Regions from separate parts of the Homo sapiens genome. Here region 1 is linked to region 2. Evidence: promoter capture Hi-C in 16 types of primary human blood cells and fetal thymus (Javierre and others, 2016). All regions are on one chromosome and are shown on one strand. The core of a region is centred on a gene start or on the middle of the fragment in contact, and the rest is flanking DNA. Distances in the headings are between cores, read along the strand shown.

The links. Contacts are between HindIII fragments. The CHiCAGO score rates a contact against its expected background, and 5 or more counts as called.
Region 1: a contact is called between a fragment that was not itself captured here and the fragment with the promoter of RABL3 in region 2, in 1 of 17 cell types (megakaryocytes). The highest score is 6.6, in megakaryocytes.

Annotation. Positions count from the first base shown.
Region 1 is chr3:120,637,808-120,641,456 of GRCh38, reverse strand. HGD (homogentisate 1,2-dioxygenase) reads left to right here. Exons shown (of 14, transcript NM_000187.4): 12 at 2,876-3,002. Among named protein-coding and RNA genes, the nearest start is that of HGD, 43 kb to the left of the region's middle. The HindIII fragment of the contact is 2,399 bases long and covers 761-3,159 here.
Region 2 is chr3:120,741,220-120,744,684 of GRCh38, reverse strand. RABL3 (RAB, member of RAS oncogene family like 3) reads left to right here and starts at 2,169. Exons shown (of 8, transcript NM_173825.5): 1 at 2,169-2,223. The coding sequence starts at 2,178. GTF2E1 (general transcription factor IIE subunit 1) reads right to left here and starts at 1,941. Exons shown (of 5, transcript NM_005513.3): 1 at 1,891-1,941. RefSeq lists enhancers at 1,889-2,008, 1,889-2,183, 1,631-2,269, 2,149-2,438, 2,270-2,908. The HindIII fragment of the contact is 8,742 bases long and covers 1-3,465 here.

The DNA of each region.
Region 1 (3,649 bases), core at 711-3,210, 100 kb after region 2:
CCTTTGGTGAGGGAGTAAATAACACAACTAGTAGGGAAGCAAAGCCAGATACTCAACATTCCCCTGTGAACATAGCTTCATTCTCTACAGAGCATTGGTGATACTCTGACTTGTATTTGCCAAACTAAGTGGATAAACACTTAGTTTCTTTGTGGAAAATTTATCCCCCAAAACAACCAAGTGTTAATGTCGGTGGTAGAATGAGGAGAAAGGAACTTTATGAATTTGGAGAAGTCCCTGACCCCACAACTCTCAAGAGCCTCCTCTATGATCTCTGACTTCTCACCCCAGTGCCTTCATTCCTGGCTGTATTTGGCAGTGACAGAGTGAACAGCCCACTTCTAAAGTTACTCATAACTTTCAGTGCTTGAGTTTAAACCAAAGAAATTCTAGAGCATGAACTTGGTCATATTTTTCACTCAGTTCGCAGGCCACAAATGGTCTCTGGTCTACAGTGCAGGCTCCCAAGACCCTACATTCTTAATAAAGTGGTGGTTCTGAGACCCCGGGGGGAAGTTCATTTTGCAGCTCACTTCATAAGAGATGAACCTAACCCACAAGCTGGAAGGATAATTAGAGCAGAAGTCAGAGACTCAGAGGCAAAAGGATTATTGTGAGCCAGTTCAGTTTATCTCTGGGGGGACAAACCTACCTCTCCAAACAGCAGCAACTCTTAATAAAAGCAAAGGGGAAAAGAAAAGTGAGACATCAGACCCCAAACAAACAGCACGAAAAAGGATCCTGAGACACTGATAAAGCTTTATTTGTGATTCACTACCTTTGCTTTAATAGTTTCAGATCATGTCCCATGACAGTTGAAGAAATGTCAATTCTCACAGCAATAAGGGTTGGGTTTATTTTTATTTGAATTTACACAGATGCGATCTTCTCTGTATTGCTGCAATAGTTATTTTTCCAAAATTCAGTTCTGATCATGCCACCACTGTCTTCATTAGAAAGCCTTTGCAGGCTTCCCATGGCTTAGGATTAAGTCTGCACTCTGAAGCATGGTGTTTGATGCTCTTCACCATCTGTCCCTGGACTCATTTTCCAGTATCACCTCTTGCCCCTCTCCCTTCTGTCAATGCACTGGGGTTTTAGCCTTCTCTCCTCTTAACAAAATCTCTGTGCACTTTGATGTGTTTTCAGTGATTAAAATGTCATTTCCCTTCCTTCCCACTTCCTTAGTCCTCCCTCCCTCCCTCCCTCCCTTTTTCCCCCATCCCCGCCACGTCCTTCCTTTCTTTTTTTTTTTTTAACTTTTATTTTAGGTTCAAGGGTACATATGCTCCTTCCTTCCTTCCTTCTTTCCTTCCTTCCTTCCTTTCTCTCTCTCTTTTTCTTTCTTTCTGTTCATTCTTGAAGACCTACCTCAAATGTCACCTCCTCTTTGAAGCCTTCCTTGACCCTTTCAGGTAGAATTAGCTGCCCAACCCCCACCCCACAATTAATGCTAAAGAAGCAGGGAATCGATCCCCATGATCTTTGAATCTCCAGACTCTTACATGGCATCTGAAAGGGAACATGATTGTTGATTTCAATTAAATTGAATCTCAACCTTCTCACTAAAGAATTCTGAAGAGTTTTAAAAAGTATAATTTCGTCCCTCAACCTATCCTATCTCTACACTACCACTATGAAGACTACGGATGTAAATGCTGTGTTTTAGACCTGAAAGTCAAACAAAGGTAGGAAAGCAATGAACCACTTCTCAGACTTTTCTGCCAATGGATACAATCTGGAATCTCCGTATTCTCCCAAAGAGGAGCACATCTACACCAAAACTTGGATTTTGCTTTATTTCTATTTCTACTTTGCTCTGAGCATCCCTTCTGCTGCACATCTCAGCTCTAGTCAACTTGATCTGAGGTTGAGAAGCAGGCACCGTTGGTTCTCAGACCCACGGGGTAATAAGTTGCATGTAATGTGGGCTCAGCAGGGTGAAAAAGCAGTTCAGAATCCTTTTAGCTGGTGTTAATTCATTTTGCCTCAAGCACAGCAAGAGGAAAAAGTCATATGAGTGATTATTGCACCTTGATGACAAGCCCAGACTTCTGTTGTTTGATCAGAAATTAGGCTGTCCGTTTGCAGCAACATGGATGCAGCTGGAAGCCATAATCCTAAGCAAATTAATGCAGGAATAGAAAACCAACTTCTGCATCTTTTCACTTATAAGTGGGAGCTAAACATTGAGCACCCATGGACATAAACATGAGAAAAATAGACACTGGAGACTACTAGAAGGGGGAGGGTGAAAAAACTACCTATTGGATACTATGCTCGCTACCTGGGTGATGGGATCCTGTATTAGTCCATTTTCATACTGCTGTGAAGAAATACCCGAGACTGGGTACTTTATAAAGAAAAAGGGGTTTAACATATCCACAGTTCCACATGGCTGGGGAGGCCTCACAATCATGGTGGAAGGCGAAGGAGGAGCAAAAGCATGTCTTACATGGAGGCAATCAAGAGAGCATGTGTTGGGGAACTGCCCTTTATAAAACCATCAGATCTTGTGAGACTTATTCACTATCATGAGAACAGCATGGGAAAAACCTGCCCCCATGATTCAGTTACCTCCCACCGGGTCCTTCTCACAACATGTGGGGATTATGGAAGCTACAATTCAGGATGAGATTTGGGTGGGGACACAACCAAACCATATCAGATCCCTACCCCAAACCTCAGTATCACACAATATACCCATGTAACAAAACTGCATATGTATCCCTCTATCTAAATTAAAAGTTGAATAAAAATAAATAAAAAAATTAGAATGTCACTTGCAAACACCTTCATGTATGCATGAAATGTGTGTCATTGTCCAGTCACTTCCCTTGCATCATGCGTTCAGTCTCTCCTTGTGTGTTCACAGGACCCATCCATTTTCACAGTATTGACTGCTAAGTCTGTCCGCCCTGGAGTGGCCATTGCTGATTTTGTCATCTTCCCACCTCGATGGGGGGTTGCTGATAAGACCTTCAGGCCTCCTTATTACCATAGTAAGTCTCTCTTTTACCAAGCCACATTTGCAAGCCAAAGAGACAACAAAGCAGTGAGCGCTACACATTGGGAATAATGCCTGGGTTATTTCTGGACACCCACCATGGCATGAATTCAGGATCCTGCTGCACAAGGCCTAGTGCTGATCCCCAAGCTTTAATCTCTTTAAGGGATGGTAGTTGTGTTAGTCCATTCTTCGTTGCTATAAAGGAATACCTGAGGCTACTTAATTTATAATGAAAAGAGGTTCATTTGGCTCGTGGTTATGCAGGCTGTACAAGCAGCATGGTGCTGGCATCTGTTTCTAATGAAGCCTCAGGAAATACAATCATGGTGGCAGGCAAGAGGGAAGCTGGCATATCACATGATGAGAGCAAGCAAGAGAAAGGAGGAAGTCCCAGCTTCTTTTGAACAGCCAAACCCCATGTGAACTCATAGAGTGAGAACTCACTCATAACCGTCATGATGGCACCAAGCCATTTATGAGGGATCTGCCTCCATTACCCAAACACCTCAAACCAGGCCCCACCTCCAACACTGGGGATCACATTTCAACATGAGAGTTGGAGGGAACATACATCCAAACTACATCAACAGTGATGCATTGATTCTGAGCCTAGTTCCCAGTTTCTCTGTCCCTGTAAGA
Region 2 (3,465 bases), core at 920-3,419:
AAGAGAACAGAATGAATGAAAGTTATTACAGAAAAAAAAATCAAAAGGACCCAACAAAATATATTGGATACAGAATATGAGAGTAGGAAAAATCTTAAATAGCTCTCTGTTTTGAGCCAGCGTAGCTAGGAAAAGTACTGCCATGAGAAATAGGTGACCCCTGACGAGGAGCAGGAAGAAATGAGGAAATCACTTTTAGAAGTGTCTTTGAGGAAATACCATAGGATATTCCTCTGAATATGCCCAGCAGGTAGCTGAACAAATGAAACTAGAGCTCAGGAATGAAATCAAGCTGTGCCACTTTGTTCAAAATCTCTGCATTCTAAAATCCTCCTTCCTGACCACTACCTTCTCTCCTCCATCACTTCCCACTCACGCTGAATCTCCTTACTCAATCTCTAGAGGTCTTAGGTAAGAGTTCTCAAACTGGCAGCCCCCCACGCATTGTATCACCCAAAGAATGTTTCAAAAATTTTCTGAATTAGTTGTCAACATTTAAAAATTGTAAGAGTTCACATAAATTTCAACTTCCAGCTCCTCTTGCAAAATTGGAAATATCTGAGGAAAAAGTGAGCCCATGTTCCCACATGGAAACAATAAGCTGAAGCCGAATAGCAGCTGGCGTTATTAGGGAAGGAGTATGGCTGGTCTCTGGAGACTTCTGAGCGTGGGACCTCCTAGGACCTTTGTTTCTTCCTTTGATCTCCATAGTCCATGAGTCAGATCCCAGCCTCACCTCCCTACCCCAGCCCAGACCCACGTGTATTTTAATCATATCAACATTTAAGGACTACTGTGCACCAGGCACGGAGCCAGAGAAACAAAGTTGAAAAGAAGGCACCCTCTGCCCTCTGTCTACCCTGTCAGCCTCATAACCAGCCACACCAGCATATTCTCAATTCCATGAGCCACATGTGCTTTCCCTGCATCCCAAGGCTTTGCACATGCTGTTCCTTCTGCCCCTACAGCTAAGCCCAAACCCCCTTCTCCTAATCATCCTTCAAGTCTCAAATGATATTTCCTCATGGAGGCCTTCCCAGACTCCCCATTAAGTAGCATACAATCATCCCCTTTCACGTGTTCCATGGCTCTTTCCCCCTTCTTGTACTTTCTCCATGTCTATCTCTAAGACCAGACTTCATCTTGTTCACCAATTAATTTCCAGCATCTAGCATAGCCAGACAAGTACTTCCATAAAACTTTCCATATGTCTCCTAGGCACGTTTTGTTCCAACATGGCTCATCTTGCCAGCTTCCCCCTGCTTCACTTCCTCCACTCTTGTTTCCAAGGTAGAATCGGACAGGCTACTGGGCACTCTCTTCTTAAATTTAAAACAGTTTTAAGCGGGAGGTGCGTGGATCAAATTCAGGATGTTAAAAGATTGTACTGACTGCAGAGTGGAGAAAAAAACAAGAAAAGTGGATGCGAAGAGACCAGTTAGATTACTTCAGTAAATCGCCACTCCAGTTCTAGAACAACTTGGGATTCTACACATCTAACTGCGGTGTTGTGTTACCACATTTCATGGCACTTTCCACGCCTTCACACACACAGCGGCAAACTACCGCGAAACCTCCGGACCCAGCTGCCCTCCACGAGACGCGTTCGGTGATATGCACTCCTCCCCAATGCGAGACTCCGAGACCCCAAACTCCCTCGGACTCTCCCAGTTGGGTCCAGGGCCACACTCGGCGCAGCCAAGCCCGCCCTACCCGAGGTCGCACACGGGCCGCTCCGGGGTCAATGGTTCTTTGGAGGACCAAGAGGACCAAGGCAACAGGGTAATTCATTAGGGGAGGATAGTTAAGAGGGAGCGAAAGGAAGAAGAAATCATGAAATGCAATGCCCGGCCAGGGAACTCCGAACAAGGAACAGGGAACAAGGTTTACCAAGGCGAATCCTGGAACACTCCCACTACAGCTGCCCCCAGCGCTTCAACTACCGGCTTAAATGAACCACGCCCCTTGCGCGACAAAGAAAACGCACTATTCCTGCGACCAGCTGGGGAAGCACCCCGCTACCTTTTACCAGACCAGCCAATGAGTTCAGTGAAACCTTCGATCAAGACAGTCACGCTCCGAGTGGCCAATGAAATTGAAGGCTCTGCCCTCCATGCCCAACTCTGATTGGCTTACAATCCAGGAACAGGCGTTAACCCAGGGAAGGCAGTGGCAAGATGGCGTCCCTGGATCGGGTGAAGGTACTGGTGTTGGGAGACTCAGGTGAGCGGCTTACCCTACCTCTGGGGCTCCAGACACTTTTGAGTTACCCAGTAACCCTCCCCTTAGCTTCCTTCCCTCAACTTCCTGGCTCCTCGGCCCGTGGCTGAAGTCCCTCCCAGGGCCTGAAGACTACACTTCCCAGGGGACTTTGCTCCGTGTGACGACGCGGTGGCGGCGGCGTCGTCGCGCGGGTGGGGGTCGCGGAGCCCGGGTCTTTTGCCTTCGCGGCTTTCCGCATCGGTCTCCCAGGCGACCCCAGCCTAGAGTGTATTGTCAATTCTTTTATTAAAAAAAAAAAAAAAAAAAGCAGGCATTGAGTATTGTATGGGGTTCTATGTTAAGGGTACAGAAGTTAGTAGGACCGTGCCTTCAAGAGATTTTGTTCATTAAGGAAGTCAAACGTGCACTGAGAAACGTGCACTGAGAAACGTGCACTGGCAAGCGCTTCGCATGTATTAACTCATTTAATTCTGAGACAGTCCTGTTATCCCATTTTACAGATGAGAGTAGTGAGGCAGAGAGATGTAAATGACAGAATCCTTTTGAACGCGGAGTCCACGAACTTAAACGCTAAGTTATAATTATGCAGTGACATATTGGGTAGTGGTCCTGTTTTATTCTTAACTGAGCTTAATTTCCTGGTTCTCGTTTGATCTTCATTGAAAACCTATTATGTCCTAGACTGTACAATAGAGAAATTAAAGTAAGAGTTTTATTCTGAAGCAGCTAGGATTTAACGCTGAGCCCAATTTAATCCTAGTGTTAAATATATATATATTTTTTTAATCTCAGTGGATGCAAAAAGAATTCTTTTGACACCTGGGACATTTGAGAACTACAGCTGGCGTCTGGATTTCCAGCTCCCACCTCACTGCCCTTATCTTTTCTTCCATAATCCCCAATTCAGCTCTCCTTAGTAACTTCAATAAATGCTGACCTTGCATTTTATAGAAGCGCTCCTCTGGAGTTGGCCTAAGAGCATGTGTTGTGAGCAAAGACGTTGTGCTAGATGCTTGGAGGTGGAGAGGCTTGAAAACTTAATAGAAACTAAATAAAATTGTGGGCAGCAAATATAGGTTAAGAATGTTTTCACATTGCCCTGAGGATTATTTGCATTATGAAATATTTTACAGAGAGCATTATTTAATATTCCCCTAAGAAAGTTGCCTTTTGAAACTTAATGAACATAATCACAATTTATGTCGACTTCATTTCTATCAGGTAGCTTGAAGTGGTGCCGAA